6 separate regions of the Homo sapiens genome follow, and all the other regions are linked to region 3. The links are contacts of gene promoters, found by promoter capture Hi-C in blood cells and fetal thymus (Javierre and others, 2016). All regions are on one chromosome and are shown on one strand. Each heading gives the region's core, a stretch centred on a gene start or on the middle of the fragment in contact. The rest is flanking DNA. Distances are from core to core; before and after follow the strand shown. Region 1 holds the start of GOPC (golgi associated PDZ and coiled-coil motif containing). Region 2 holds the start of NUS1 (NUS1 dehydrodolichyl diphosphate synthase subunit). Region 3 holds the start of PLN (phospholamban). Region 4 has its middle 25 kb from the start of FAM184A. Region 5 overlaps GOPC (golgi associated PDZ and coiled-coil motif containing). Region 6 overlaps SLC35F1 (solute carrier family 35 member F1).

Region 1 (4,274 bases), core at 317-2,816, 950 kb before region 3:
ATAGGAGAGAAAGAATGCTGACCACTAGGCAAGGAGAGGATGTTTAACTGACATTCATATTGATATAGATATAATGGGCACTGTCAATGACAACGAGTAATGATGATTTCTTAGGAAAGCATGTTCAGAGTTTTGCACATCACTGATTATCCCATTTTTATCTATTACACTTTTTGAAAAGAAAGACCCATTCTCTTAAATTGCCTAGTTAGAAAGTACTCTTTATGCAATAATGTTAATCTATCTTGATTTCTAAATATTTTAATAATGTCCTTTTTAAATTTTCTGCACAATATGATATTTTTGTTTTTTTGAACCACAGCCACTCCACCCTCACCCACACCCAGGATCAGAGATTAAAGCAAATGATTCTTTACACTCTCTCAAAAATAAATCCAGACTTTGGAAAATTACACAGTAATGTACAAGCATATAAAAACTCAAGGTCAGAAGTAATTTCAATAATTGCAGGGAGCTCTCTGGAGGTATCTGCCTGTAATTTAACAACCAACTATGGATGTAAACCGAGACAGTGATACTATCGTTATGCACCACGAAATTTTCCTAAGAGCTTTGATCAGATTCCCCTAAATAGTTTATGCATGTCTCTGTATGCAATCATAGGCGCTGACCTGGAATAATTAAAATGAAAATAATCAGTGCTGTATCTGTCTTAACATATACAAATTCGGTTTATCAATGTGAAAGCAGATCTGCAAAACTCAGTTGTCAAAAGGTGGCCTACGGTATTTTCATGACAGAGAATCTTTGTTAGGTTTGTTAATGTAACATGTGCAATGGAGGCTGGTGTATGTAATTAGTTTCCTCCTCAGAGAGATACTAGGAAGGTGGACGACAGTACCCCGGGAACTCACACGTCGGTCTAGGGCCCTTTTTGTCCCCCACCCTCACCTCACTCCTCAGACATGCACTCTCCCATCACATTTGAAGCCCCGGTGGGCAGTTTTCTAGGGTCGTTTCACTGGAGCGTTAAATGGCATCTGACGCCACCGGGCAGCCTGGGGTTGGATGCCATAGCCGCCAGCACCCACGGCTCACCTCCAGCTTGTGGTTGATTTGAGACACAGACTGGGCTTTGTGGCAAAGCTGTGCAAAGCAGGAGCTCAGGCTGGTCATCTTCTGTCGCCCCTCATAAGTGATGTCCGCTTGGTCTGGATCGATCTCTCCCAGGAGCAGATCCACATCCACAAAAGCTTTGTCGAACTCCTTCTCCAGCACCTCCAGCCACCGGAACATGGATACCCCGCCAGGGGCCCCCACGGAGCAGGAGGCGCCCCCTGGGCCCCCTCCGGCTGCTGCTGGGCATGGACCGCCCGCCGACATGGCGCCGTCAAGGGCCTCTCCCGACTGCTGAAGACCCTCGCCGCCCCCCGCGCACGAAGGGAACTGCTGGGACTGAGGGGACCCCCGCGCGCGCGGGCACACTCCGTCACCTCCCTTCACCTCGCGCCGTTAACGCCAGCAGCACAGTCACAGAACCGCAGGAGTAACGAGGCTGAAGCTGAGGCGGCAACGGCGGCGACACACGGAAGACTCAGTCAGTCCCACCTCCCAGCCTGCCCCCGCTGCGCATGCGTAGCGAAGAGCTGGGCGGACGCAGCCACGAGGGACAAAATAGGCGGGGACAGGATGCGATCTTGGCCTATGAAAGGCCTCAGCTTGGGAGCGGCCTGTCAGCGGCCATATTAACAACTGGCAAACTACGGCTTGAATCCCTGAGAAACGGAGGCGCGTGGTTTCTGCACCCTGGTTGGAAAGGCCCGAGGATGAGAAAGGTGTCCACGTCGCAGAAAGGAAGGATTTCCGCCGGTTTGACTTAACAGTTGGCGGGAGCCGTTCCAAAATCCTCCCAGAAAGTTGCTGCGGTGGCATCTAGGGTCAGGGAGGGGAGAGCAAGGAAGGGCGGTGTGAGCATGCGCAATAGCCACGTTTTTACCTTCTCGATTCCAGTTCCTGGATAGGATGGAGTGGGTGTACACACTGGCTGTTCTTGGTAAACCAGACCCCAAATTCCAGGTGTGGACTGCCTAAAGCTGCGCATTGAAGCGGCTGACCAGATTTTGCGGAATTAATAGAAGACTTTTTGTCTTGTGATTAAGAGTCAGGTAGACCTGGATTCAATTCTTACCCTCTGTCACATACTACCTGTGTCGCCTTTCATGTATTAACCTCGAAACCAAGTTTCCAAATTTTACTTAACTCAGTTGTAAGGTAAAACGCTTAGCGTCACTTCTTGGCACACGGTATTCCTCTTAATACACCATAGGTCACACATTTCAAAAGCAACTACAGTAGTGCTTCACTTAAGATGGGGATATGTTCTTAGGAATGTGTCCTTAGGTTAATCATCCCTTAGGGAACATCCTAGAGTGTATTTAAACACAAACCTAGATAGTATAGCCTACTACACACCCAGGCTATATGATGTAGCCTATTGCTCTTAGGCTGTAAACCTGTACAGCATGTTGCCATTCTGGATACGGTAGGCGATTATAACACAGTGGTAACTATTTGTGTACTTAAACATATCTAAACATAGAAAAGGTACAGTCATATACTCTTATAGGATCACCATAGTTTATGCGATCCATTCATTGCTGAAGCCTTGTTATTTGGCACATAACTGTACTTTAAAAGGTGTATTTATTTGAAAACTGGTAGTGTCCTCACACGTGACATTTCAGAAAATCAAAATTGTGAATTCATATATTTACAAATATATTGAATGCAGAGCTCTGTTGCGACATTGAAGACACAAAAATGAATGAGACATGACCCTTACTCAAGATAGGCTAGTGAGGCTACTACCCCTCAACTATAACTTTAACTTGAATTTTTCAGTGCCTTTAAAAGTATCCAGCAACTCCTCTCTTTACATTCTGCCTACTTCCAGTTCAAGGGTAGACAGTCCTAGAAAGGGAAAGAGAAACCTGTGTGATTAGAGTAGGCTGGTGGAAACTCCTGCATTACCTAGAAGCATATTTAGCTGAGTGCAGTCTGCTGTTATCTGTTCTTGGGGCAGACCCTTACGGTTAATCACAACCCAAAGCCTGCATTGTGTGCCCTTCGCTGATGCAAGGCAACTGAGGAGCAAGAAATCACAATTTTATTATTGCAGTCTTTGTACTGCATGGCAGACTGGTTAGCATGAAGCAATAAAGTCCTTTGGCTTGAGCAAACTTAGCTAATCAAAATGGATCATGAGATCCTGACCTTAGACTTAAGTAGGGACCTTCATACAGGTTTTAGTACACAATAAATAATGTAAAACTAAAATTTACATCTTTCCCCATTCCCTTCCAAAATTAGCTTTATTTTCATCTACAATATTTGCAAAAACATTGCTACAGCTATCAAGCTCCCAGCCACTTTATCTACACATAATACAGTTAGCAATGCATTTTCAGGAACGCGAAGTAAATAATTTAAAATTAGCAGGGCAGGGGGAGAATACATCGAACCACAATTATAATAGCTTTCAATTATTGAGTCCTTACTATGTGTTAGGCATTATGCTATTTTCTTTAATTCTTTGATCCTTACAAAATCCTATGAGGTAGGTATGATCACGTCTTTTATTGTTGTTGTTGAGACAGGATCTTGCTCTGTCGCCCATGCTGCAGTGCAGTGGCACGATCACAGCTCACTGCAGCCTCACTTTGTTGACCAGGCTGGTCTGGAACTCCTGGACTCAAACAATCCTCCTGCTTAGGCCTCCAAAAGTGCTGGGATTACAGGTGTGAGCCACCACACCCAGTAATCACTTTTTAACAGCTAAAGTCACAGACAGCTTAAGTGTCTTGGTAAGGTCACAAAACTAGAAAGAGATTGAGGTAGTATATCAATCTAGGTGTCTTTTTCTCCTAAGTTGTTGCTGTTAACCATGTAATACAGAAGAATGAAGGAATCTATTTCTTCTTGTAAAAGTTAGCAGTATAATAAACTAGCAAGTAAGTTCCAAAAGTTCTTTTTAATTTCTTCCTAGTTAGAAACCATATACAAATCTATTAACATATAAGAACCATTACCAAAAATTGTAATAACTCATTTTCTATTACTTGTAACTCTAATTTATATGAACCACACTTGAGTATAAATTTCATTTCTTTAAAAAATCAACTTCCAGCTACATTGTGTGGGTGCAGCTGAGTGACATTTTAAGTGTTTATATGTTTCCAGTGCTCTAATGGTTTGTGGGTACCCCCATTTTCGAGATTGCAGAACCCAGCTTCGTATCTATTACCTTTACAACT
Region 2 (4,299 bases), core at 1,599-4,098, 870 kb before region 3:
GAATTGTGGCTGAGAACAAAAGGCACTGAGTCCACCTCCTTCTAAGAACAGTGAAGCAGCCTGAAGTTGACAGCAACCACCAGATGCAAAGCAGGTTCACTGTGCACTGGTTACCGGTTCAGCCCACTGCATTTTGGACTGCACTTTTCCTATATCCAGTGTCCAGTGACGCAGAACACTCACACACAAGTTACACGAAGTGGGTTTATTACTTACAGACAGGCAGCAAGGGACAACAGAAGCATGTCATAATGACCATATCTCCCAAGGCCGAGGAAAACTTCTTAGGGAGGATGGCGTCTCATCTGCTCGTGCACTGCTTGCACCGCAACTAAGGGACCCCAGAAAGCAGTCTGCTCTCAGTTTTTACTACAGGGCAATGGGATGTGCTGGGCTAGTACTAGTTGAAGGACATCCTATTTCTAGAAGAGACTGGAACAGAGCCTGGGCTGTTCTGGTCAGTTCCTCCTTGTCTATAGTATATTGCATTCCAACACATTCTACAGTTATTCTCGAGAACTACAAGTGAGAAAAGGGGAAGAACTGTGTTGGTTCAAGGCCCCCAGAGAACTGTTCTGTATGAGACCCTCCATCCCTAGCCTACTGACAGCTGACAGAGAAGAAAAGTGGGTACCGCCGCCCCACCACTCTTTAGGAGGCTGAACATCCTGGGAGCTAGGGGACCTGCTACTAGGAGGAAACTCTAGGAGGAAAGCAAGCAAATGTCTGGGGAGAGACGCCAGGATCTGCATGTGAGTGTGTCAGATGGACATGTGGCTAGAATCCTTTTGCTTAAGTTTGCAATTCAAAGAAATACAGGGGCCGGACGCAGTGGCTCACGCCTGTAATCCCAGCACTTTGGGAGGCCAAGGCGGGCGGATCACCTGAGGTCAGGAGTTCAAGACCAACATGGTGAAACCCCGCCTCTACTAAAAACACACAAAAAATTAGCCGGGCGTAGTGGCGGGCACCTGTAGTCCCAGCTATTCGGGAGGCTGAGGCAGGAGAACGGCGTGAACCCGGGAGGCGGAGCCTGCAGTGAGCTGAGATCGCACCACTGCCCTCCAGCCTGGGCGACTGAGCGAGACTCCGTTTCAAAAAAAAAGGAAAAAAGAAATACAGAAGATAGAGCCTGTTTGTGCCTGCACACCTGAGAGCAGGCCACGGGAACATGAGATTGATGTCTTTAATCTTGTCAGAACGGATAGACATTGGGGCAAAGAAATGAGTACGGTAGAGAAATGTGGCAACATAGTCGGCATGGGGGGTGGGGTGGGGTCTGCAGAATACGTGGCCAAATCTCAATGGGACACTGGTGTCTAGGGAGCTTCCTTAACAAGCATCATGTAGCTGCATAAACTACAGCAATGGGCAGTGAGGAAGAAGACTGTAGGCTTCCCTGATCATGGCCTTTCGCCTCTCCTTCTTTGTCCATCATCAGAGGAGCTACCGCAGAGGAGACCTGGAGAGAAAGAAGTGTGTGAAGGGTGTGCCTGGTGCCCAGCCCTCAGTTCTTCAGGCTGCACTGCCAAAGGGAGGAAAATTGCACTGCGAAAGGGAGATGGACATGAGATTCAACTTTTAAAGTAAAGTTAAATGAGTCTTAGAAACCAAAATGAGACTAGTTGAAAAAGTGACAATGTTAGAAAAATTAAGTCACATAGCCAAGACGTGAACAGATGTTTCCCAGGGGGAAAAAGAGGCTTTAGCGAACAAAGAATAGGTAGGTATTACAAAAACGCAACTGTTTACACACACACACGTGTGTAAATATGTGTGTATACGTGTGTATGTGTACAGTTGCATTTTTGTAATACCTCCCTAATCTTTATATATATACTTATATAAATATAAATGCAAATAATATAAATATTATTGTTGCACACACACATATATATGATGATAGAGGATGTAGCATGTAGGATAAACCTTGAGAAATGGGTTGGAATGTCGGCAATACCAAGTCGGGAATCAGGAATTCAGGAGAAGAGCTTGAACAAAAAGGGCAAAGACAGTACAGACTTACCGCGGGGAAGTACAAAACCATTCTAGAGGACCACGTCGAAGTCCACATGGACAGAAACATTAGGGTGTTAAAGGGGATGATAAGGCTTGGATGGGCAGTTTGCTTCAAATAGTGGCGGTCATTGAAGTCAGGCACAATTTCTATTTTTTTTCCCCACTGTAAACCTAACCCACGGCGGTTGGTCAAAGTCTTGCCGAATAAAAAAAAAAAAAAAAAAAAAGAATTAAGTGACTGGACTGCCAAGCTGTAGAGCCTCTATTAAGCAATGTACAGCCAGGAAAGGATACCTTAGATGAGAATGACATGGGTAGAGGGGTGTTTCAGGAACATGGCTAAAGAGCCTCGCTCCCAGCCTCAGCCGGGAGGCTGAATAAAGGACAGTAGCAGGATCACTCCAGCCTTTGAGGACACTTTTGGAAACCCTGGTGGATTCCCAGCATCAACACTTACTGAGGGCTGCTTTCCATCCCTAGGTTCTTTCCGGCATTTGTAATTTCCAATCCACTTAGGACACTTCTACTCCTCAGAAACCGTTTCTGTCGGGGCCGTGAGAGGAGACAGTATAAGACTTCCTGGACCCAAGGGACGCCGGGTCCCCTGGAAGCGCCCATCGCATTGAAGACCACGTGTGCCTTGCTGGGGTCCCATTCAGACAAGTCCCGGGTCGTTCGCTCATCGCCCTCCACGCGACCAGGGGGCGCCCGCGGTATCGGCCCGGCTAGTTCGCAGGCGTGCGCCTTCCCTCACTGCGCCGGAACGGGCCACGTTCTCGGACCCAGAAGCCGCGTCAGAATTCCACGCTGGCCAATCGGAACTGTCCATGTACTACTGGGGGCGGGGCTGCCAAGGGAGGAGGAAGATGGCGGCGGGGGCGAGGTGAGGTGTTGGCAGTGGAAAGGGGTTCGGGCTCGGGGGGCGGGGGGACGCGGAGCGATGGCCCGCGCCGGCCGCAGGGGCGGATAAAAAGCCGTCGCGCTGCGGGAGTGGGCGGGAGGGAGAGGGGGTGTCTGAGGGCCACAAGAGTATGACGGGGCTGTACGAGCTGGTGTGGCGGGTGCTGCACGCGCTGCTCTGTCTGCACCGCACGCTCACCTCCTGGCTCCGCGTTCGGTTCGGCACCTGGAACTGGATCTGGCGGCGCTGCTGCCGCGCCGCCTCTGCCGCGGTCCTAGCGCCGCTCGGCTTCACGCTCCGCAAGCCCCCGGCAGTCGGCAGGAACCGCCGTCACCACCGGCACCCGCGCGGGGGGTCGTGCCTGGCAGCCGCACACCACCGGATGCGCTGGCGCGCGGACGGTCGTTCCTTGGAGAAGCTGCCTGTGCATATGGGCCTGGTGATCACCGAGGTGGAGCAGGAACCCAGCTTCTCGGACATCGCGAGCCTCGTGGTGTGGTGTATGGCCGTGGGCATCTCCTACATTAGCGTCTACGACCACCAAGGTGAGGCCCGGTGCGGTGGTGGGGGGTGGCCGAGGCGTCTTGGACCGCTAGACCGCTGGTCTGGCGGGTGGTGCCCATGGCACGAGTTGCCGCGGCCTCTCTGCAAATCACAGCGCTAGCGCTTTCGAGGAAGGGAGATCAGCTTTATTGAACACCTACTAATTCTCTGGATTTGACTCAGTAGCTTTTTAACATTTTAAAAATATCCCTTGGCCGGGCGCGGTGGCTCATGCCTGTAATCCCAGCACTTTGGGAGGCCGAGGCGGACGGATCACCTGAGGTCGGGAGTTCGAGACCAGCCTGACTAACATGGAGAAACCCCGTTTCTACTAAAAATACAAGTTTAGTCGGGCGTGGTGGCATATGCCTGTAATCCCAGCTACTAGGGAGGCTGAGGCAGGAGAATCGCTGGAACCCGGGAGGCGGAGGTTGTGGTGAGCCGAGATCGCGCCACTGCACTCCAGCCTGGGCAACAAGAGCGAAACTCTGTCTCAAATAAGTAAATAAATAAATAAAAATAAATAAAAAATCTCTTATTCGTTATAATACTGCAGTAATGTAGATGGTATTTGTATACCCTTGCCAAGGTTTAAAAACATTAACTGATTTGCCCAAGGCCACAAGATCGTAATGGGGCCACAAAGATCGGAATGAGGATATTGGAATTTTAGCCATTCTGTGCTTTTTCACAATCTTTGCCTTTGGTTACACCACACTGTTTCTTTAAGAGAGCTTCCAGGCGCTGTTCTTAAGTCGCAGTGAGGCTATAGAGGACTTAGGCATGGGCTGTGTGATAGGTACTGCAAATGGGAGCGGTGGGGGTCAGGTGGTATT
Region 3 (4,284 bases), core at 1,303-3,802:
CCATCCAAGTTCAAAGACACTTTACCCTTAAGAATCCACCTTCTAAAGGAAAAAAGAAAATAAGTGCTAACACTAAATGAACACTGTTGCAGGATCTCTGATAATCACTATGTACACTTCATGTCATTAAACCATCACAAATACTATTCCACAGATTAGGCTGCTTAGGAAAGTTATTTGTATAAAGCCATGTGACCAAAAATACATTCAAACTATAGTGTAACTCCAAATGAAGACTGTGACAAAGCACCTCAAAAAAATTTTCTAGCCTCTAGCTGAGGAATCATTGAGGAACACTCTACTGATAACACTATAACTCATTAATACTCCTATTAAACAACTTTCTGTTTGGGCAATTAAAAACAATGTTCAGTTAAAACTAAAATCTAATACTTCCTAGAGTTCCACATGAGATCATCACCATCATCGTCATCTTCACTAGCTAACCCAAAGGAACAAGGTAAACACAAAAACTCCCCACTCTTGTACCAATCTAAAAAGTAAATTTTTGAATCCATTTTCCAACTGTGTCACACACAGTTGTTAGTATCCTTCTAAGGTGTGTATATGCCTATGTATACTTTTTAAGTAAACTTATAAACATGTGGTAACTAGGGCATATTTTATTCTGTCTACGGCAGCTTCTTGGTTTATCCAACTAAGTATTACTAATTCTATTTTCTTAGAATGAGAAGTTCTCAGAACAATGATCTATCACCTAAATTTCAAATGAATGTGTAACTGGTAGACAAACTTAAAGCAGACTTTCTAAAACTATTAACAGTGCTCAAGAATGCATCTATTTACATCTTAAAAATTTCTCAGTTACTATATGCTACTCTAATGAAAGCTATATTCAAATTATAATTTTTTCCCACAGCATGCCAACAGATTAGGAATTATAAACAGACAGATCTGGATTTGAATCCTGTCTATTCTTTAGCAGCTGGTTATCTCTGACAAATTACTGTAAACCTCGTTAGGCTTCTCGGTTTTGTATTATCAATCATCATTGGTAACTGATAGTACTGAGAGATCCTCATTATGTAAGGATTGAAAGAAAAATGGTTGTAGCACTGAGAAAAGTATCAAACATTATTCTGCAATTTCCTTAACTTGGGTTTTACTTTTAAGTTGTAAATTTTCCCTTGGCAATGTTCACAGGATATCTTTGCTAAAATATTATTTTTCAGTTAGTTTTAAGCTGACTCTTTAAATATCAAATGATTTGCTCTAGAGATGGATTTTCTTTCTTTGGAAGAAGCCAAGATCATTTCCATTTAAGGGCATGTAAGCAGCTGCTGCTACACATTTTAGTTACCCATAAGAAAGTGAAGTGGGCTAAGTTCACTCTGTCATAAGCATTTAAAAAATTAAAAATTACAAGTACCTCCTCTAAAATTAAAGAAGAGATTTAAGAATTAATATTTTCGAGTGTGGTGACTTAAGTAAATCTAACATCTAAGACAACAAATTAGATAAACAGAGAAGAGGAGAATGATGCCCGGCTTTACAAAAAAATTATTTCCCCAGTTCTACTGTAAGATAAACTGTTCTAGGAAGTTCAAAATATCATCTCACTTACTAGCATCTCATTTTTATAGTAATTTTCAGGAAAGCAACTGCTAGATTAAATGAGGCACATCCTTTCAAAAACATTACAAAACTTAAATTTCAACACATCAAACCTATAAAGCCTCATTAACTGAGATGTAACTGATTTGGAATCTGTAATTATTTCTTTTTTGCCATAAAGTTGCCCTTAATACTGCATCAGTTTATTAAAAATTTGGTAAGATTGTGTAATAATTTAATGCAATTGTTTTTAAAAAATCTTAAATACTTAAAGTAGCATATTGCTATTTTGGGGGTGTTGTATGTATCAGTTTAAATATAAGTATTACTATTCACAAATATATTGTTAAACTGCTAATTGAAGAAAACACAAATGAATTAAATACATTTATTAGTTCTTTAACTGTAAGATAAAAATAATTTTTTAAAACAAAAAGCAATTAGCCTGATTTTCTCATACTCCTTCTCCCATACACACAAGAACAAGAACAAAATAAGAAAACAGGTATAAAATTTTATTGTGTAAAAATATTTCACTTTCACTAAAAGCTAACATTATGAAGACACGTATTAAAGCAACAGCAGCAAGAATTCAATGAAAGTTGTTTTGCTTATACCTGTGTTTATTTTTCTCATAATTAAAATTCCTGCAGTAACTATTTTAGCTCTTCAACATCTTCACCATTAATATTCAATTATCTCTAAGCCTGAAGATGCATGAATCTTTAACAAAAGCTTTCCACCACCTCAAGTTTACTTATTTTTTTCATTTATCTACCATATACTGTTTTAAATTAAAAACAAAAGATGAAGCACAAAGTGTTAATGACTTTTCCATACCTAAAGTAAGAAGTTCTAAAGTTTGGTTGTGATAAGACTGAGACTGTGGCTAACCAATCGAAACTTCAGAATTCCTATGTGACATCATAAGACCTCCCTAGAACACTTTTTCTCCTCCACCTACTGCAACTGTTCCCATAAACTGGGTGACAGAGTCAGAAAACTCCCCAGCTAAACACCCGTAAGACTTCATACAACACAATACTCTATACTGTGATGATCACAGCTGCCAAGGTAAGAAACAGATTTCGCTGACTTTGGTAATTCTTACTTTCTATAATTCTTAATTCCTATAATTTCTATAATCTGAACTTTTAAAATGAGTTAATTTTATGAATATCAGTTCAATCTTAGGCAATAAAATGACATGACAAAGTGCTTAAATTTATAAATGCTTATCCATTTAGTGACAGGAAAAATGAGACAACTTTGAAATGAAAAAGGTCATATTCATCTTTGATCCTGGTTACTGGTTTGTCATTTAAATTTATCTTTCACTTTTATTTTGCTTTTCAAATGTGAATTTCTGCCAATTAAAAAATCTTCCAATTATGTTACCATATTTGGTAGTAGTGGTTAATTTCTCCATGCAAAAACAATGACTTAATTTTGTTATTTATTGCTCTGCTGAGAAACAGTGCAGAACTGAGCTATTTACATCTGAACTAATATGAATAGTCATTTGACTACAACATGCACATTATCAGCATGCCTATTCCAATATTATCATAATTTCATACAGTGAATAATGAAATGGAGTTTCAGAATATATAATACAAGCTACTTTTAAAGTGCCCTTGAGGATGTTTCCCCTCTAAAGTCCAGTCAACTTTTAACAAACATTTCTAAAAAAATTCCATGCTATTAATAAATTGAGTTACTGATATTAAATTCAATATTGTATCATAAAGAAGTTTAGAAATTTTAAAACAATGTTCACAAACACAAAAAATCTGACGTTAGAGAATAATTTGATACTTTAAAAAGTTATTTTGACACACGAATATTCTTAACTATCTTATTTTCACACAAATTTGATTAAATGGATTTCTGCCTATTAATGCCTATAGTTTTGTCAAGTTATTATCCTCCAGTGGTACTCCATTTCCTCTCTCGGATTTAGAAAGAAAGGAAAAAATAAAATAAATGCCAGGAATGGAGATGCCACAATCAATTTTATGACTTCTGTTTGAATTCTACCCTATTCTTTATGTTACAATCCTCAATTTAGTAAATGAAACGTTTCCTCATTCTTAGATCTCTGTCAGGGCATACAGAAAATTACATATATTTTATTTATTTTGATTTTCATATTTCATATATATGTTAAAATAAAATTTATCTCTAAAATTCTCAATTCCTATGACAAATGTTAATTCTATTGCTCACTACAAATAAGAACTTTGTAACTCTGTAAGCAGCTTTCCTTAAGACATAAAAAAACATAATTTTTGTCTACCACTGAGGTATCCTAATTGTGTCTCCATATCTCTATACTCATATTTTTCCTTTGATAGTACATAAAAGTCATTCAGTGTAGGTGTCTTATGTTATTTGTGCATTTTTATTCAAATATCTATCAAATTACATTCTCACACTTCAAATTGGGTGTTCACGAGTTATTTTATTGTATCAGAATTTTGCTATATCACATATTACTCTAAAAAGTACACATACTTCTGGATAGAGCAGAAATTATATTAAACTTACCCTTAGCTCACTAGTATGTCTCAGTTAACAGAAATTACAGTTACAGAGACTGCTAAAATTTCAAATATAATGTGGTAGTACCATACATTGTGTCCCAACTAGTTCATCTATACCTTAAGGTGCAAGTTAAGTATTATCTTTGTTTATGAAGACATGTGG
Region 4 (4,378 bases), core at 509-3,008, 560 kb after region 3:
TGCTGGTACAAGTGGGATACATAGTAGGAGACAACCACCATAAAGACACACAAAAAATTAAAGAATAAAGGATAGGCTGGGTGCGGTGACTCACGCCTGTAATCCCAGCACTTTGGGAGGCTGAGGTGGGCACATCACCCGAGGTCAGGAGTTCAAGACCAGCCTGGACAACATGATGAAACCCTGTCTGTACTAAAAATACAAAAATTAGCTGGGCTTGGTGGCGTGTGCCTGTAATCCCAGCTACTCAGGAGGCTGAGGTAGGAGAATCGCTTGAACCTGGGAGGCAGAGGTTGCAGTGAGCCGAGATCATACCACTGCACTCCAGCCTGGGCAACACAGTGAGACTTCATCTCAAAAAAATAAAAATAAAAATAAATAAAGTATATAAATGCATCATAAATAGAGTAATGCTAGGAAGAAACTGAATAATATTCTATCATGGAAAAGGAGTAGTTAGGGCAGGGCACAGGAAACAGCAGATTGTTTTCCATCCCTCATCAGAAGATTGGGAGTATAATTTTCAATGAAAAGAGTGAAGCTGATTATAAATGTAAGATATTGGCCCTTTAGGATTTGCTGTAGGCCAGCAGTTAGTGGAATTCTTAATTCCCCCCAATTATTACTAAAATTGTTATACCCTAAAGACCAATAAGGCATGAGAAGGAGGCCTGTGCTTAAAATAATCTCTACTTAGAATCAGGTGTATTAGGCAATAGGAATCATAGTAAATAAGCTTCAGTATGTATCAGGAAAGCAGAGAGCTATTACCAGCAGAAAATCTTGAGTTTGAAAATATCACTATAGGCTGGGCACAGTGGCTCACACCTGTAATCACAGCACTTTGGAAGGCCGAGGTAGGTAGATCACCTGAGGTCAGGAGTTTGAGACCAGCCTGGCCAATATGGTGAAGCCCCGTCTCTACTAAAAAATACATAATATTAGCTGGGCATGCTGGCATGCACCTGTAGCCCCAGCTACTCAGGAGGCTGAGGCAGGAGAATCGTTTGAATCCAGGAGGAGGAGGTTGCAGTGAGCTGAGATCGAGCCATTGCACTCCAGCCTGATGACAGAGACTCCATCTCAAAAAAAAAAAAAAAAAAAAAAAGAAAAGAAAAAAGAAAAGAAAATATCACTAAAAAAGGGCAGAGAAGAACAATATGAGCTCTAAAGTAGGACAGACCTGCCAGGAAATGCTACAAAGAGCATATAGTAGGCCTTGGTTTTCTATACAATGTCTACTCCCTTCTTATTCTTTCTTAACAGGACCCTAGTTTTGCTCAGATATTCATCTGTTCTTCATGCAATTCTGGAGTAACCTCCAGCTCGGGAGTCAACCCTAATTGGTCTGAATCAATTATGATATTCTTATTCTCCTGCCAGGAATTGGTTTATGATCATGTGGTTCAGGGACCTGGTTCTTGTCCATGACAAGGATAGAGAAGGGCCTGCTTTCTACCTGTGGACACTGCTGTGTCTGTATGTGATGCCTGAAACTACTACATCCATCTTGTTACCAGTCAGAGTATGAAGCCAGGACACTGATGAGTGTAGAGTGGAAAGACGAAATGAAGCTGGATCCAAGATGACATTGATGAGTAGCTACATCAACCCCCCCAAATCTATTTACTGACTACTTCAGGATTTTCTGATACATGAGTTAACAAATTTCTATTATTTAAGCCAATCTGGCTGAGTGATTTTTTTGTAATTTATAGACAAAGACACTTTAGCTGATGCAAGAATTAGGATGGTGGTAGACCTTCCATCCCAGCATGCGTTCTTTGCTCTTTCAATAATAAAAGATGAGCAAGACAAAACTAGAAGATTGTGCATAATTGGATGTCCAATTCATTTGTTGGAAAAAATTCAGGGAAATTCTAAGGAACCACATCTATGTTTTTCTGAGGCAGGAAAACAAAATATTTTTAAAAAGAGAGAGAGGAGGCCAGGCACGGTGGCTCAAGCCTGTAATCCTAGCACTTTGGGAGGCTGTGACAGGCGGATCACGAGGTCAAGAGATTGAGACCATCCTGGGCCAACATGGTGAAACCCCATCTCTACTAAAAATACAAAAATTAGCCAGGCATGGTGGCACGCACCTGTAGTCCCAGCTACTTGGGAGGCTGAGGCAGGAGAATTGCTTGAACCCAGGAGGTGGAGGTTGCAGTGAGCAGAGATCGAGCCACTGTACTCCAGCCTGGTGTCAGAGTGAGACTCCGTGTAGAGAAAAAAAAAAAAAAAAAAAAAGAGGAATGTTCATTCTTTACTCTGGTAATAATGTATTGTGCCATATTTTGGAAAATGATGATATTTTTATTTAATTTATGTAAGTTTATTTTTATTTTTATTTTTGAGATAGGGTCTTGCCCTATTGCCCAGGCTGGAGTGCAGTGGTGTGATCAGGGCTCACTGCAGCCTCAACCTCCCAGGCTCAAACGATCCTCCCAAGTATCTGGGACCACAGGTGCCTGCCACCAAGCCCAGCTAATTTTTGTATTTTTGCCATGTTGGCCAGGCTGGCCTCAAACCCCTGGGCTCAAGCAATCTGCCCACCTCTGCCTCCCAAAGTACTGGAATTACAGGCTTGAGCCACCATGCCTGGCCAACCATAGTTCTAAAAAGATGTTTGAAAATATTCCAAATGCCACCGCAAGAAAAACGAGGAAAGTATTGGCTTTTAGAATGTGGAATCTCTAAAATGAGAACTTAAACCTCTTGAGGGCAAGGATAATGTCTCAGGTTTGCATTCCCAGGGTCCACCATAGTGCCTGATAATAAAAGCTTGTCAGAGAAATAATCTGAGAACCTGGGAAAATGTGTCCAAAGTGGTATCACGCAAATAGTATCACACAGAAGATGTCCCTACAAAGATTCTAAGAATATGATCTTAAGTGTGTAAAGTGTCAAGATGCCACAACTTACCAAGACTTTGATGATTACATTTTTTTAAATGGTGCATGCTTTCAAAATTATAAATTACATTTTATTTACATATAAAATTAAATGGCTCTTCACTCCTTAAGTGTGGACTGCAAATAGAGACTTCTTTCCAAAAAGCCCTATAAAACGCGCGAAAAACTGTAACTTTAGAGTGCAGAAAGCTACTACCCAATACTACCTCAACTAGGTGATCAAGGTCAACGTCAATAGTGATAAGTCATTTTGATAGCATGTGCCCTTGATCTGATGTGATGAAAATAGCAGTTGATTTCTGTGATCTTCACTATCAAAACCCCTAAGTCCAGTCTAATTATGAGAAAAACATAAGGTAAATTTCAGTAGAGGAACATTCTATAAAACACTGGCCAGTACTACTCAAAACTGTTGAGGCCATCAAAGCCAAGGAGAGCCTAAGAGATACGATGACTAAATGTAATATGGTATCCTATATGGGATCCTGGAACAGAAAAAGGATAGTAGGTAAAAATTTAGGAAAATGGGATAAAATGTGGACTTTAGTTAATAATAGTGTGTCATACTAATATAAAATGTTAACAACAGGGGAATCTGGGTGTGGAATATATAGGAACTTTCTGTACTATTGATATGGTTTGGCTCTGTGTCCTCACCCAAATTTCATCTTGAATTGTAATCCCCACGTGTTGGAGGAGGGGCCTGGTTGGAGGTGATTGAAACATGGGGGTGGATTTCCCCTCTGCTGTTCTCGGGATAGTGAGTGAGTTCTCCTGAGATCTGATGGTTTAAAAGTGTGTGGCATTTCCCCCCTCACTCGCTGTCTCTCCTGCTCCACCATGGTAAGACCTGCTTGCTTCCCCTTTGCCTTCCACCATGATTCAGTTTCCTGAGGCTTCCCAGTCATGTTTCCTATTAAGCCTGCAGAACTGTGAGTCAATTAAACCTCTTTTCTTCATAAATTACTCAGTCTCACGTGGTTCTTTACAGCAGTGTGAAAACGGACTAATACAACTACCCTCACAATTTTTCTGTAAATCTAAAATTGTTCTAAAAAAAGTTTATTTAAAGAATATATGGGCTGCAAACAGGTACCTTCAGTTTTGAGCTATGTCTCCCATTTTCCCAATAATTTTCATCTAATACAAAGCTGGTCTTGCCCTTTCAATAATAGAAATACATTTAGAAAACCATACGCATTGCAGAAATTTATTATAATCTGTACTTTGACAGCAAATATCAAGCACATTTATTGCCCAGATGCATAGTTAGTTGGCAAACATTAATTTTAATTAATTAAGTATGTATAACTAACGTGAAGATATCAGTCATGAACAGCTGAATCTCAGTAAATTACCAGCTCCATATTTAAACAAACCACATCACTGTTTAAGGTCACATAATTGTCTCAGATTTTTGGCATGCTTTTTAAAAATTGTCATTCGTGAATTGGATACTGCTA
Region 5 (3,841 bases), core at 500-2,999, 990 kb before region 3:
TTTTTAATAATGGCCATTCTGATTGGTGTAAGATGATATCTCATTGTGGTTTTAATTTGCATTTCTCTGATTAGTGATGTTGAACTTTTTTTTTCATGTTTATCATCCACTTGTATGTTTTCTTTTGAAAAATCTCTGTTTTTTGCTCACTTTTTATCTTCTTACTTAGACGCCAGAGGTATTTCTTTTACAACCAAATGCCCTCTTAAAACTTTAAATCAAGCTTGTTGTTCAAATCTTCCTTCTTTCCTAATTTGCCTGAAAGTTTTGTTGCAATCTCCCACTATGATGATAGATTTAACATTGTAGTAAATTGGTTCTTTAAGAATTTAAGTAACCTTTATCCCTAATGGTTTTTTTCTTAAAGTCTGTTTTTAAAAAATATAACTGTATCCATGTTCTTTTGGAGAAAATATGCCCAGTGTATATTCTTTCTCCTTTCACTTTCAAATTTTTTATGTCCTTATGTTTTAGGTATGTTCCTTTTAAACAACATATTGCTGGATTTTTTCCAATTTAAATAAAATGTTTTCTAATTTCAGTTCTTTCTTTTAATAAGTTTACACCCTGATCAAGCACTCTCAAAAGTCAATTCCAGACTGGGCACGGTGGCCAGTCTAATCCCAGCACTTTGGGAGGCGGATGGATCACCTGAGGTCAGAAAGTTCAAGACCAGCCTGGCCAACATGGTGAAACCCCGTCTCTACTAAAAATACAAAAATTAGCCAGGCGTGGTGGCACGCACCTGTAATCCCAGCTACTTGTGAGGCTGAGGCAGAGGAATCACTTAAACCCAGGAGATGGAAGTTGCAGTGAGCCAAGATTGCACCATTGCACTCCAGCCTGGGCAACAAGAGTGAAACTCCGTCTCAAAAAAAATAAAAATAAAAAATATAAAATTCAGTTCTAGGAGTACTCCTTTGGTTTTTGCCAGAATGTGCTAGCTAATTCTTACACTTTTTGTGTAGTTTCTTTTCTCCTTTATCAGGCCCAGCACATCTCCCATCCTGGCTTTACTAGGATTTAGCCCTAGTTACAGGCCTGGCAGCAGACTAGGTAGGGGCAGGTATTGCCTTAGGGATGTGGTTAGTAGCAGCCTCTGTAACATCTTGGAGCATAGACAAGGTACAAGGTCTTATTAGAGAAGCGTGGGCTTCTTCTTAAGACCAACAGTCCAGTAGAGATTGCAAAGTCTCTCAGGTGCAGCCATCCAGATCTCCCCATGGTTCTAGGTTTTCCTCACCAGGGCCTTGACTTTCACAAAATAGAAGAGGTTTCGCTGAACATTCAAGTGTCTGAAACTCAGCAACTCTTAACACTTAGGTGTTCAGCCTGAAGCTCAGCTGTTTCAATCCCTCCATTGTAGGAGGTAAGGCCTCCTTGGGAGCTGCCCCCCTCCATCCATTTCTGTAGGTCATTAATACAATCCTGCTGTAACCGGCCAACTCTGCTATTCTTGTAGATGTTGTTCTCCCACATTTTTCAAATGTCTGCATCACTGACCCTCCTGGAGAGTTCCCCTCTCCATAAGCTGGATTTTTTCCAATTTAATAATTTTTTCCAATTTAAATAAAATGTTTTCCAATTTCAGTCCCAAGTCTCCAAAACTCTCCCCAAGTTGAGTGGTTTGCTAGGACTCATCAGACTAAGCAAAGCTTTATTCACAATTATGATTTATTACAGAGAATATAAAGCAAAATGAGGAAAGGGAAAAGGCATATGGGCACAGTCCCAAGAAAATCAGGTACAAGCTCCAAGATTCATTTCCCAATGGAGTCACACAGGACATGCTTAATTCCTCTAGCAATAATGTGTAACAATACATCAAGTGTTGTCCACCTAGGAAGCTTGCCTGACTGAACCTAGGAGTCAAGGTTTTAGGGAAGTCAGTGTAGGTACCCTCTGCCTAGCATGTACCAAAATTCTAGATTCCCAGAGGAAAGTAAGTGTTCAACAAAAATCCTACTGTTTGTACAAACACTTCAGGCACAGTAAACCGCACTTACCAGCAAGGGGATAATGGGAATACTCCTGATATCCAAATTGCTGGACGCTAGCCAAGGTCCAACCTTGCAAGCAGACCTAAAGACAACAGGTTCAGGCCTGTTCTGTTAACTCTTTTCTGCACACCATTTGTGAAATAGCCACTGAGCCATGATTTTGTGCCAACGACTAGATAAACTATACTCACCAACCAGATGTCACTGTCTTTACCCTTTGGGTGGGTTCCTAATGCCCATCTTATTACCTGTTTCCTCAAATCTCACTCATGGTCACTTGTGTTAATCTAGCCTCTCTAAGAAGCAGACGCCAACACCAAAAAGGGATCTGCTGTGCAACAGATTTATTAACGGCAATGCCAGTGAGGAAAAATAGGTAGGAAGCTGGAGTTGATTGGAGGCTGGAAGGCAATGAGATCACAATGGAGTTAAGACCCAAGGTGAATGAAAGGAGGAAGGAAGGTTGGGTGAAAGCAACTTGGACTACAATGTAATCCTAAGGGAGTTTGGCAAGACCATCGTGGAGTGCTCCAGCTAAAGTTGAGGAGTCATCATATAATATCCCTGTCATAATCAGTCACTGACTGGCAGCAGCATGGAGGAGCATAGCCTCACCATGTACACAGGGATGGATTTCAGACCACAGCAGCTGGACCTTCAGTAAGCTATGCTCCCTCCTGCACGAGAACTGACAGATGCATTCTCATGGCTGCTGCCGTGGTGATTATAGCTCTCAAATCACACCTGAAAAAGGTTCATTATTGAACAAATATTCAGCACCAACAGTGCACGGTAATTTGCAATACTTTTAAAGTGTTTCTTTAAGGTTAGTTATAAAACCACCTAAAATAAAATACTGATTAACAATGAAAATACAAGTTCTCTTTAAAATTTCATAAACTGACCAAAAAAAAATTCATAAATTGACCAATATCCTATGGGGTTGTATTCTGGGGAAAAGACTTCTTTTCAAATCACTTGGTGAATTGGGAGCTTAAATCAACACACGGAAAGCATATATGTATTAGCACTAAATCAAGGTTAGTCAGTGACAAAAATGTATTTCTAATGTTCATAACATTTCTAAATGTTCATAACTCAAGTAATTCATTTACAAGTATTTTCCAAAAATTATTTTACATATAACTTAGGAACTTCTAAATCATATATACTTAGATGTCAAAATGGAAGAATACCCTTTTAAATAGTATCTTAAAAACAGGATTGATTTTCTAACTTTCATCAATGTTTTCCTCATAGATAACAACAGCTGGCAATATTTATAACACAAAATTAAGCCAAGTCCTTTGCACAGACTTTATGACATGTTGGTACAAATAATAGAACTACTAGAAATAAATAACAAGCCAAAATATTTAACGTCAAGGAAACAAAATGTTTATTTAAAAAAATGAGATCAATATCATTTTAATGTAGAAGATGCCATCTTTATTTACAGGCTAATAAAAAAATATTAAACTCAACTAGATATAATACATTATCATAAATGCAATAGATTTGAGGCCAACCATAAGTGTAAGACTGGATAGATGGAATAGGGATTACATAATCAGGATGTCAAATACTGTGCATCTTACACATGAATCACATGAAACCTTTTTGTTTCTAAACATGAAAACAGCATAAGTCCACTGCAGTGGGGAAAAAAACAGCACCACAGACAAGCTGTGCTAACTTTCGATAGCTGTTGACTTGTAATTATCAAGACTCACAAAATTTTCGTCTTTCTCAAATTTATTTTAACAATAGTCTCACCACCAAAATGTTGCTTTTCCATCATATTCATAACAGAGATACTGTAGAAGAGAATTTTAGAGGTT
Region 6 (4,003 bases), core at 455-2,954, 570 kb before region 3:
GACACAGGGCACCATGTCTGGGGCTACATAGAGGACAGGGGCCCTGGGCCTGGCCCAGGAAACCATTTTTCCCTCCTAGGCCTCCAGGCCTGTGATGGATGGAAGGGCTTGCTGTGAAGGTCTCTGATATGCCCTGGAGACATTTTCCCTATTGTCTTGGTGATTAACATTTGGCTCTTCATTACTTTTGCAAATTTCTCCAGCTGGCTTGAATTTCTCCCCAGAAAAAGGGTTTTTCTTTTATATCATCATCAGGGTGCAAATTTTCCAAACTTTCATGCTCTGCTTCCTTTTGAATACTTTGCTGCTTAGAAATTTCTTCTGCCAGATACTTTAAGTCATCCCTCTCAAGTTTGAGTTTTCACAGATCTCTAAGGTAGGGTCAAAATGCCACCAGTCTCTTTGCATTGCAAGAGTGAGCTTTACTCTAGTTCCCAACAAACTCCACATCTCCTTATGAGACCACCTCAGCCTGGACTTGATTGTCCATATCACTATCAGCATTTTGGTCAAAGCCATTCAACAAGTCTCTAGGAAGTTCCAAATTTTCCCACATTTTCTTTTGTTTTTCTGAGCCCTCCAAGTGGTTACAACCTCTGCCTGTTACCCATTTCCAAAGTTACTTCTGCATTTTTGGGTATGTTTACAGCAGTGCCCCCACTCTGCAGTACCAATTTACCATATTAGTCTGTTCTCATGCTGCTAATAAAGACATACCTAAGACTGGGTTATTTATAAAGAAAAAGAGATTTAATGGACTCACAGTTCCACATAGCTAGGGAGGCCTCACAATCATGGCAGAAGGCGAAGGAGGAGCAAAGACACATCTTACATGGTGGCAGGCAAGAGCGTGTACAGGGGAACTGCCCTTTATAAAACCATCAGATCTCATAAGACTTATTCACTATCACAAGAACAGCATGGGAAAAACCTGCCCCCATGAGTCAGTTACCTCCCACTGGGTCCCTCCCATGACATGTGAGGATTATGGAAACTACAATTCAAGATGAAGTTTGGGTGGGGACACAGCCAAATCATATCAGCCACCCATACCTAGATCCCCATTATAAAATTAGGGATACTTCTGTTTTTCTTCATAGGCAAGTACCTAGATGCTACAATTTAATAAGTTTACAAGCATTATGATAAATGTTAAAATTGTGGAATTTTAAAAAATACAGTTGGATGAAAGAGTTTGGCTGGTGTTTTATCTGTTACAGTATCTGTTAGGACTACTATAACAAAATCCCACAGACTAGGAGGCTTAAACAATAGAAATTTATTTTTTTCACAATATCTCACAGGAGGCTGGAAGTCCAAGATCAAGGTGTCAGTGGCAGGTTTGGTATCTTCCAAAGCCTCTCTCCTTGGCTTGCAGATGGCCACCTTCTTGCTGTGCTTTCACATGGCTTTTTCTCTGTACCTATGTGTCCCTAGTCTCTCTCTTCTTATAAAGACAGCAGTCCTGTTGGATGACGGTCCACCCACATGACCTCATTTTACCTTCTTTAAAGTCCTTATCTCCTAGTACAGTCTCATCCTGAAGTGAACTGGGGGTTAGGACTTCAACATATGGATTTGGGGTTGTAAGGGGACAAAGGACATAATGACTGATTTATGTATTTATTTACTCATCTATTTACCTAAAAATAAGTGTTACTGAAGGTTCGTAGACATTTTTCCTGAGAGCTGGTTTGATGATGATATGCTTTCTGGGTCTCTCCACATTGCAAGGTCAAAACTTGTTTTTAAATTTATTATTATTTTGTTTATTTATTTATTTAATTTTTAATATATATTTTTTTGAGACAAGGTCTTGCTCTGTTGCCCAGGCTGGAATGCAGTCATGCTCATTGCAGCCTAGAACTCCTAGGCTGAAGAGACCCTCCTGCCTCAGCCTTCCCAGTACCTGGGAATATAATCTTGTACCACCATGCCCAGCTGGTCAAAACTTGTTTTATAGAAACTATACTTTAGGATTATGGGTAATATTAGGGCCATTTCTTCACAACTTTTATAACTGTGAATAAGTGAAGGATGACCAGAAGTACCTATCAATTAATTTTTTAGTCCAATAGTCAGAATCCAGGAATTAACAGTAAACTCAAAGTTATGGTTTCTTCCAGCTCTGCCAAGGTAAACTACATCCAGTGAATCTTGACATTGCTTTGGGTTTAGCTCTGTTACATGCAGCTGGTATGCATATCCAGGCCCAGTACCCTGCTGGATGGTGCCAGTTTTACTGGGGAGGTTATATGCAGAGATTCTGCTGGTTTGAATCCTGGCTCTGCCACTTGTCAGCTCTTTGGACAAATTGTTTAATCTCTCTATGCCCCAGTTTCCTCATCCATGAAATAGGAATAATAATAATACATAGGGTTCTTGTTAGAAATAAATTAGTTATGCCATTAAGCACTTAGTACAAGGTCTAGCACTTAGCATATACTTAATCAGTGTTAGGTCTTACTATTTAGGAGCAGGGCATATATGGTTTTAGTCTGAAAAGATACCATTTTATTTCCCCAGACTAGCAATGTTCCAAACATAGCTGTATTTTCACATGATAGATACTCAGTAAATTTTTATTGAATGGATGAATGAATGATATTTGAAAATTTCTTATTCTGCACTGAAGTGAAATTTAATTTGGATTTTGAGTAGCATAAAGTCAAAAATGCCTTTGAACTCTGGAGCACAGCAGGAGGTTGCTTTGATTCTGAAAATCTGGAAAGATTTTTTGGAGTGTCTGAGCTCAACATTAATATAACTTTTTAATGCTGAATCAAAATAAGAGATCTGTGACAGCTATTCTTAAGAATTTTGGTCTAGGACTCATTTACACTCTTTAAAATTATTAAAGACCCAAAGAGCTTTGGTTTCTGTGGGATTATCTCAATTTATATTCATTACATTATAAATTAAAATAGAGGAATTTAAAAATATTTATGACATGTCCAAAGAACAAAAGTAAGCCCATGTGGGTTAATCTAAATAATGCTTTTTAAATTGTGTTTTCCAAAATAAAACAGAAAGTGAGAAGAGTAGCATTGTTTTACATTTTTGCAAATCTCTTTAATGTCTGACTTAATAGAAGACAAGTGGACTCACATATCTGCTTCTGCATCAATCTGTTGCAAAACTTGCATTGTATACTTGTAGGAGAATGAGAGTGATAAAGGCAAATAATGTGTTAGTATGATTATGAAAGTAGTTTTGAAGGTTTGGACTTCTTGAAAGGATCTTAGGGATTTCCCACACCACACTTGGAGAGCCACTGATGTAAGTCAAGTCCATTAGGAATCCATAGCCTCTGAGTTTTGCAATCTCCATTTATCAGCACTAATGAGCTGAACAGATGGAAATGTTTACTTCCTTCCATTGATGTTTAGAAACAAGTTGACTAAAATGATTTTCCAATGTCATTCACTCACCCTTCAGTGCTAATGCCCATCCTCAAATAAATGAGAACATTAAATAGCTAGAAAAAAAGTTTGTTGAAGTTATTTGACAAAAATAAAGAAATTTTGATTAGAGTTAACTGCATTATAAATGCTTAAAGACAATGTGTGGCCTTTCTCAAATTTAGAGTCCGCTAACTGGGAATGCCAATTAAGCTTTGACCTGGGATTGGCTGGCAGCATCCCAGGAAAAGTCTGGCAGTGTTGTTGAAGAATACTATAGGACCTAATGCCTTGAAAATTTTTTTTCATTTTAGTATGATCTCCCTCCCACTTTGATGTTTTAGAATTAATTGTGTATCTTAACCTGTCAATCAGATGTGAAATTACTATAGTAAGGTGTAATTTTAAAAACTCCCAGATTAGAGTGATAGGAGATGTGATTCTCTTATTTATTTATTTATTTTTGTAGACGGGAATCTACTAACCTATGTAAAAGGGAACTTATTCTGTTCTACAAGTGCTCTGTGCTATGCTGAAGTTGTAGTCTGTATTCTAAATAATCTCCAATTTTATTTTGTTCCTGCGCTAACAAGTTGTTTTCA

The links. Contacts are between HindIII fragments. The CHiCAGO score rates a contact against its expected background, and 5 or more counts as called.
Region 1: a contact is called between the fragment with the promoter of GOPC here and the fragment with the promoter of PLN in region 3, in 3 of 17 cell types (naive CD4 T cells, megakaryocytes and naive CD8 T cells). The highest score is 7.7, in naive CD4 T cells.
Region 2: a contact is called between the fragment with the promoter of NUS1 here and the fragment with the promoter of PLN in region 3, in 2 of 17 cell types (naive CD4 T cells and naive B cells). The highest score is 8.2, in naive CD4 T cells.
Region 4: a contact is called between a fragment that was not itself captured here and the fragment with the promoter of PLN in region 3, in 1 of 17 cell types (activated CD4 T cells). The highest score is 5.2, in activated CD4 T cells.
Region 5: a contact is called between a fragment that was not itself captured here and the fragment with the promoter of PLN in region 3, in 1 of 17 cell types (naive CD8 T cells). The highest score is 5.8, in naive CD8 T cells.
Region 6: a fragment that was not itself captured here is called in contact with the fragment with the promoter of PLN in region 3 in 10 of 17 cell types (naive CD4 T cells, total CD4 T cells, non-activated CD4 T cells and 7 more); the score reaches 14.8 in naive CD4 T cells.

Annotation. Positions count from the first base shown.
Region 1 is chr6:117,600,945-117,605,218 of GRCh38, forward strand. It overlaps GOPC (golgi associated PDZ and coiled-coil motif containing), which reads right to left and starts at 1,567. Exons shown (of 9, transcript NM_020399.4): 1 at 1,060-1,567. The coding sequence starts at 1,344. It also overlaps the pseudogene NEPNP. RefSeq lists enhancers at 1,449-1,538, 1,669-1,958. The HindIII fragment of the contact is 3,398 bases long and covers 1,213-4,274 here.
Region 2 is chr6:117,672,621-117,676,919 of GRCh38, forward strand. NUS1 (NUS1 dehydrodolichyl diphosphate synthase subunit) reads left to right here and starts at 2,849. Exons shown (of 5, transcript NM_138459.5): 1 at 2,849-3,465. The coding sequence starts at 3,051. It overlaps LOC101927919 (a long non-coding RNA gene), which reads right to left and starts at 2,664. Exons shown (of 3, transcript NR_110854.1): 1 at 2,477-2,664; 2 at 2,027-2,215; 3 at 193-1,462. The HindIII fragment of the contact is 6,476 bases long and covers 1-4,299 here.
Region 3 is chr6:118,545,744-118,550,027 of GRCh38, forward strand. PLN (phospholamban) reads left to right here and starts at 2,553. Exons shown (of 2, transcript NM_002667.5): 1 at 2,553-2,649. All of the region lies in intron 3 of CEP85L (centrosomal protein 85L), which reads right to left. The HindIII fragment of the contact is 6,726 bases long and covers 2,309-4,284 here.
Region 4 is chr6:119,101,700-119,106,077 of GRCh38, forward strand. It overlaps a transcript of FAM184A not described here. Among named protein-coding and RNA genes, the nearest start is that of FAM184A, 25 kb to the left of the region's middle. The HindIII fragment of the contact is 2,048 bases long and covers 735-2,782 here.
Region 5 is chr6:117,556,894-117,560,734 of GRCh38, forward strand. GOPC (golgi associated PDZ and coiled-coil motif containing) reads right to left here. Exons shown (of 9, transcript NM_020399.4): 9 at 3,376-3,841. It also overlaps a transcript of DCBLD1 not described here. Among named protein-coding and RNA genes, the nearest start is that of GOPC, 44 kb to the right of the region's middle. RefSeq lists an enhancer at 1,385-1,434. The HindIII fragment of the contact is 192 bases long and covers 1,654-1,845 here.
Region 6 is chr6:117,971,784-117,975,786 of GRCh38, forward strand. All of the region lies in intron 1 of SLC35F1 (solute carrier family 35 member F1), which reads left to right. Among named protein-coding and RNA genes, the nearest start is that of SLC35F1, 67 kb to the left of the region's middle. The HindIII fragment of the contact is 3,815 bases long and covers 1-3,612 here.